Regions from separate parts of the Homo sapiens genome. Here region 1 is linked to region 2. The links are contacts of gene promoters, found by promoter capture Hi-C in human tissues and cell types (Jung and others, 2019). All regions are on one chromosome and are shown on one strand. Each heading gives the region's core, a stretch centred on a gene start or on the middle of the fragment in contact. The rest is flanking DNA. Distances are from core to core; before and after follow the strand shown. Region 1 overlaps SAR1B (secretion associated Ras related GTPase 1B). Region 2 holds the start of TXNDC15 (thioredoxin domain containing 15).

Evidence for each region. Contacts are between HindIII fragments. The study calls those that stand out against the background at their distance.
Region 1: a fragment that was not itself captured here is called in contact with the fragment with the promoter of TXNDC15 in region 2 in 1 of the 25 tissues and cell types used here (lymphoblastoid cells).

Annotation. Positions count from the first base shown.
Region 1 is chr5:134,605,708-134,608,917 of GRCh38, reverse strand. It overlaps SAR1B (secretion associated Ras related GTPase 1B), which reads left to right. Exons shown (of 7, transcript NM_016103.4): 6 at 415-546; 7 at 1,852-3,210. The coding sequence ends at 1,968. Among named protein-coding and RNA genes, the nearest start is that of SAR1B, 26 kb to the left of the region's middle. The HindIII fragment of the contact is 3,877 bases long and covers 1-3,210 here.
Region 2 is chr5:134,872,351-134,875,705 of GRCh38, reverse strand. It overlaps TXNDC15 (thioredoxin domain containing 15), which reads right to left and starts at 1,335. Exons shown (of 5, transcript NM_024715.4): 1 at 1,176-1,335. The coding sequence starts at 1,278. It overlaps LOC124901071 (a long non-coding RNA gene), which reads left to right and starts at 308. Exons shown (of 2, transcript XR_007058943.1): 1 at 308-462; 2 at 574-875. RefSeq lists enhancers at 700-769, 663-1,368, 1,300-1,589, 1,610-1,659 and a silencer at 950-1,059. The HindIII fragment of the contact is 4,499 bases long and covers 362-3,355 here.

The sequences.
Region 1 (3,210 bases), core at 461-2,960, 270 kb after region 2:
GAGACTGTGCGTATTACTTGATTTAATTCTCAATTTCATAGGGTGGATGCTACTGTTCCTAATTCTCTCTAGAGCTTCAGTCAGGCTAACTTGCCCAAAGTCACATCTCAAAAGCAGTAGAGCCAGAAGTGAAACCACATCTGTTCACTTCTAAGGTGCTGGCTCTATACGTTCTATGTCACTCCTTTAAAGGATGAGCAGAGTAAACATTTACAGGAAGAGCCTTAGGAAGACAGAAGAATTTAGCTTATGGTTTCATTGAGGTCACTTTAAAATGTGGGGAAAGTTTGACAAAGAACGTTGGTATGACATGATATGGTAGAAAATGAGTCCTTTATTGTTTTATCATATCAAAATAAGCTCTTTGGATGGTTTCATATCAACTCTTGTTTTGTATTGTTTTGTTTTTTTCAGTCACTAATGACAGATGAAACCATTGCTAATGTGCCTATACTGATTCTTGGGAATAAGATCGACAGACCTGAAGCCATCAGTGAAGAGAGGTTGCGAGAGATGTTTGGTTTATATGGTCAGACAACAGGAAAGGTAAAAAAAAAAAAAAAATTATGATGGGTGTGTTTAATTCTACAGTACAAATGTCTTCTTAAATTACTATTGTCCAACTATACAAGCCCATTATCATTTTCTTAAAGAAAACTGTCATTTATACCTGTGGGTCTTTTTAATGTCCTCATTTCTTTCTACCATGGAATGAAACATTTTCTTGGTGACAACAAAAATGTCAAGGATGAGTTATGCCTAAGGCTTGTGCTTATAGGAAACTAAATTAAAGCTTTCAAAGTTATTTATCATACATTTTCAGAATTAGCCACCAAACGATATATTTGAGTGTTTAAGTATACCAGTAGTGTGTTTAGGCCCTGAGTTTACCAGAGATAAATAAGACATAAACTTGGAATATTTTACGGTTTTCTGAACATATACTTTATAATAAGCTTTAAGACGGATTGTTTTGGTATTCACTTTTCCTAGGATTTATTTTGGGGGAAACATCAGCATTGAAAAAATCCAGATAAACAGTGGAAGAACCCCAGAGATTTACAAAATTTTTTTAGTTTACATATACTATTTCAGGGTGGAGAAATACTGCAGCATATAGCAGGAGGCTCTTTTTTTTTTTTTTTGAGATGGAGTTTTGCTCTTGTTGCCCAGGCTGGAGTACAATGGTGCAATCTCGGCTCATTGCAACCTCTGCCTCCCAGGTTCAAGCGATTCTCCTGCCTCAGCCTCCCTGGTAGCTGGGATTACAGGCGTGTGCCAGCACGCCCAGCTAATTTTGTATTTTTGGTAGAGACGGGGTTTCTCCATGTTGGTCAGTCTGGTCTCGAACTCCTGACCTCAGGTGATCCGCCCGCCTTGGCCTCCCAGAGTGCTGAGATTACAGGCATGAGCCACCACGCCCGGTCCGCAGGAGGCTCTTAAGTCAGACAAAGTAGACTTTGGTCTGTTTTCTGTCTTCTTTTTTATAAATTAGCTTGATATTAATTTTAGGAAATGCTTTGTTTGGTCATAAACCTTCTCAGGGAATGTTTGTCTTTAATATTAGTGAAGCCAGTTTGGATTTTTTTCTAAGTCAGATTATTTTTATTCTTGGGTATCTTGCAAGCTAACCTCTTTCCCACTGAGTGGCCATCCTGCCCTAAGGTAGAGTGAGAGAAGGAGGCTTCTTGTGTGTTCATGGGGCTTGGATGCCAAGCAGCCACGACTTTATCACAGTCATGGATTTATCACAGCCATTCTTTGTTCTAAAATAGAACCTATAATTCTGCTGGGATGTGGGGCTTTATTAATTTTATAAAATTCCAACGAAATGTCTCTCTTCTATTCTAGGGGAGTATATCTCTGAAAGAACTGAATGCCCGACCCTTAGAAGTTTTCATGTGTAGTGTGCTCAAAAGACAAGGTTACGGAGAAGGCTTCCGCTGGATGGCACAGTACATTGATTAACACAAACTCACATTGGTTCCAGGTCTCAACGTTCAGGCTTACTCAGAGATTTGATTGCTCAACATGCATAACTTGAATTCAATAGACTTTTGCTGGTTATAAAACAGATGTTTTTTAGATTATTAATATTAAATCAACTTAATTTGAATGAGAATTGAAAACTGATTCAAGTAAGTTTGAGTATCACAATGTTAGCTTTCTAATTCCATAAAAGTACTTGGTTTTTACAGTTTATAATCTGACATCACCCCAGCGCCATTTGTAAAGAGCAACTTTCCAGCAGTACATTTGAAGCACTTTTTAACAACATGAAACTATAAACCATATTTAAAAGCTCATCATGTTAAATTTTTTATGTACTTTTCTGGAACTAGTTTTTAAATTTTAGATTATATGTCCACCTATCTTAAGTGTACAGTTAATAATTAGCTTATTCAATGATTGCATGATGCCTTACAGTTTTCAATAACTTTTTTTCTTATGCAAACGTCATGCAATAAAACAAACTCTAATGTTTGGCATCCTTGTTGGGCAAATGTTTCATTTAAATGTGTCTTATCTAGCTAGTATACTCTGAAAATTTGAGTATTTAATATTAGGCATATGAAGTGGTTGTTGGGAAAGGAGATTCCTTCAGAATATTTAGAATAGCGTTTAAGGCTCTCAAGGCTTAGGTATTTACCATGAGATGGTTGTGGTCAGTTGCACCTGATACCATGTATCCCTGAATCATGTGTATTTTTATTAGTAATGCAGCCACTACCATTGCTGATGGGGTCTGTGTCCTAGTCCCTGTGGGATTGGCCTTCTGAAGAAAAGCACATTTATGGTACACAAGGTTGATTCTCAGTTTGGTAGGCTCTATAGTTCCATCCCAGCTGTCTAATTCTGAAGTGCTCCAGTCTTATTGGTGCCCAATGGGGTAATCTGTGCCTCTTCCCCAAAAGCAATGACAGGCACCAGTGTCTCCACATTTAGATATATTCCCAGTCTCTGTACATTTAACAGTACTCTCTGGGGCAAGCAATAAGTAGGACCTTGTGTGCAGTTTCATTGTAGAGACATGTATATCTGAGGAATAAAACAGCTTGTTCTGTGTCAGTCTGAGATATGTGGAGATTTTGTTCCTATCCTATAGCTCTTTTGTATTCTTTGGCATATTTTATATCCTGGTAGAAGAAAACAAGTGCTTGTTTCCAATTTTCTTTTTTCTTATTTGCTCTCAGGTAGTTCTTACTCCAT
Region 2 (3,355 bases), core at 86-2,585:
AGAGCGAGACTCCATCTCAAAAAAAAATAAAAATAAAAATTACATAAACCGGGAGCAGTGGCTCACATCTGTAATCCCAGCACTTTGGGAAACAGGTGGGAGGATCACTTAAGCCCAGGAGTTCAAGGCTGCAGGGAGCCATGATGGGCCACTGCACTCCCGCCTGGGCAACAGAGCAAGCCCTCATCCCTTAAAAAAACAAAAACAAAACAGTAAAGATTCCAAAAGATGATGCTCGTAAAGCACTGAGCACAGCATCTGGTACACAGTGAGCGCTTTCATTCATGGTAATTGTGTTACTATGACTCACCCTTCTCCACAACTCTCTGCTGTCCTGCCTCCATCCAGGACACCCCAGGGAAAAGAAAGACCTGCCTATTCCTGTTAAGGTCTAAATGACAAGCGAGACCGAGGGTCTGGACTTTAACAGGACTATGAGGAGTGGGGTGAAGGAGCATGAAAGTAAGGCCTCCACTCTCCACCCTCGCCATGCCTCTAGAGTGGCTGCCTTCCCTACCGGCAAGTTGGGGGTTACCGGGAGTCTCCCGTGTTTCTCGTCTGTTTTTCATGCAGGGAGCTGAGCAAGACTGGCCTCCTTAAGACAGTGGTCCAGCAGCGTGGACTCCAGACTGGGCTTTGGCGTCAGAGAGACAGGCTTCTGCCACGTATCAGAAGCGCAAACTTAGGCGGGGCCTGAGCATCTTCATCTGTGAAATGGAGACACTAAACGGAACCGATCTGACAGGGTTTGTGGGAGCATTAAATGGGATAATGATGTAAATAAAGCACGATGCACAGTTCCTGGCTCCTAATACGGCCACAACAATGTCGGTATTTGATATAATGTTATTAATAATAAATTGCTTATCACCAGAGGGTATGCCTCAGCAGCGCTTACCGCACTGTCCCTCCTGGCTACCAGCCACGGGCTGAGGGCGGCCTGAACGCGGCCCAACCACCCCCGGGCTCCCGTCCACCGGCCCTCAGCCCACCGGCCCCCTTTCGCGGGCCACCAGCGGGCGGTGCGCGGGGAGAGAAGTCGGGGAGACGCGCCCGGGGAGACGCCAAGAAGGGGCGAGTCGCGCACCGCCGGCCTTCGCGCAGGTCCAGAGCGTCGCCCGGGTGGACCTCAGCTCGCCCCATCATCTCATGCACCGCCCCCGGCCCACACTCACCCTCCACGCCGCGGACGGGAAGTCCCAGCACCCACAGCAATACTTGCCACCAGCCGAGGAGCCGCATGACGCGGGGCGGTCGTCGACCGGCAGCCGGGACCATTGCCCAGGCCGAGAGGCAATCGGCGCACGGCTACGCGAGTCGTGCTGCCAGCCGGAGGAAGGCTGGGGGAGGAGAGCCTGGGAGCGCGGGCGCGGCCCCGCGCCGCCATCTTAACACCTGGCAGCTGTGGCGGGCGCCATCTTGGAGTCGGGCGGACGGCCTCTAGCCGCTGGCCGTCGGCGCTGGACTGGAGACCTCTTTAGGAGCTAAGCGCCAGACGTTGCAGGTCGTTTTGAACTCTGCTGACCCCAGAGTGCAGAGCATGGCTCTGGCAGAGGCCCATGGCCTCCTTTCTTCCCTCGGAAGTCAGAGCTTGGCTACTTGAAGCACTGCGCCCGCCTAAGGAGGGTTTTCCACGCTTCATTCCCAGAGCCAGAAAGGCCCAGGAGCCTTCCTGTTCTAGTGTCCCATCGAGGTGCAGAAACTTTGGAGGCTGCAAATCTTCTAATCGCTTGCCTAACCTGTGCTCCCCTACCTAGGGTTGCCACATAGAATACCTGATACCCAGTTATATTTGAATTTCACATAATGAATATTTTTTACTATAACCCTTATAGTATAAGGGATATACCTTAAAACTGAGCATCCTGTAACTTCGTGACATCTGGCAACCCTAACCCTACCTATCCACTCAGGGCAGGAGAGGTTGGTTTTAACTGATTTACCTTGCAGGGCAATCTCTTTTTAATCATGGTTGGGGCCGTGAGCATCATTGGCTCTGGCTCATGGTGGAGGTGGAGCCACCTCGAGCATAAAGTAGATAGGAAAGGGCTTAGAATGAAGAAAGCATAGATGGGGAGATGAGGAACAGGGCTCTGCATTCCCAAGCAAACGCACAGAGCGGGAGTCTTAAGAGAAAATTCTTGGAATAGAGAGGATGACACCACTAATTGGGGTATTTTGCCGGGGGGCCTGCTAAAATGGAATAAGGCAAGCTTTAAGCAGCCACCAGTCAGTGCTAAATCAGTGCAGAGTGCAGCTTTTCAAACTTATGAGGTTGAAAAAATAGAAACTGATTTAAAATACATCAGTCTATTGGTTAACATAGCAATGGTAAGGGGAACCTGTGCTTTTTGGCCGCTTGGTGAATCCCAACTTCAGCACATGTGATAGTTCACAGTCAGCAGGTTATGTAACTTAAAGTTAAGTTTCTTCAGCTGTAAAGTGGAAATGACGTTATATAGAGTCTTATAGATGAAATGAGATGTAAAGTGATGAGCACAGTGTCCTGGGGCACAGGAAGCATTTCAAAGTGGTAGGCATTATTAATTGAATAATACAATTCTGATGGTGTGGCCATAGTCCCCTTATCTCTATGCCCATCAAAAAGACACTGTTAGGCCAGAAAGATGCATCATTAATCTGTCCCTGTGGATGATTCTTTTATTCTAAATACGTTGGTATGGTTTTGCTGTTGTAGATCCTCAAGTGCCATCTTGTGGGTCCAGAAGAATATGAAACAATGGACATGGATAAAAGAGCCCACAGTTCTAGAGCTTATTACTAGTCATCATTTCGCTAAGTACCTCCCTCACCCCTAACAGTGGAACAACAAACCTTTCCTTTTTAAACTATCTTTCTCATACCCCCATACATGATTTGAAGGTGCATGAAAAGCCAACAGGACAGAGCACCAAAAGGATTTATGACTAATGAAAAGGAAGCTGATCTGGATACTCCAACATGGATGCCCTGTGGTTACTACTCCTTCCTTTTTATTATCTCCTTTCCTTTCCTGTATGTGTGTTTGTTTGATTTTTTTATTTTTTGAGACAAGAGTTTCGCTCTTGTTGCCCAGGCTGGAGTGCAATGGCGCGATCTTGGCTCACTGCAATCTCCACCTCCCCGGGTTCAAGCAATTCTCCTATCTCAGCCTCCCAAGTAGCTGGGATTACAGGCATGCGCCACCACGCCCGACTAATTTTATATTTTTAGTAGAGATGGGGTTTCACCATGTTGGTCAGACTGGTCTCAAACTCCTGACCTCAGGTGATCCACCCGCCTTGGCCTCCCAAAGTGTTGGGATTACAGGCATGAGCCACTGCGCCCGGCCCCTTCCTGTGTTTTTACTTTAGCT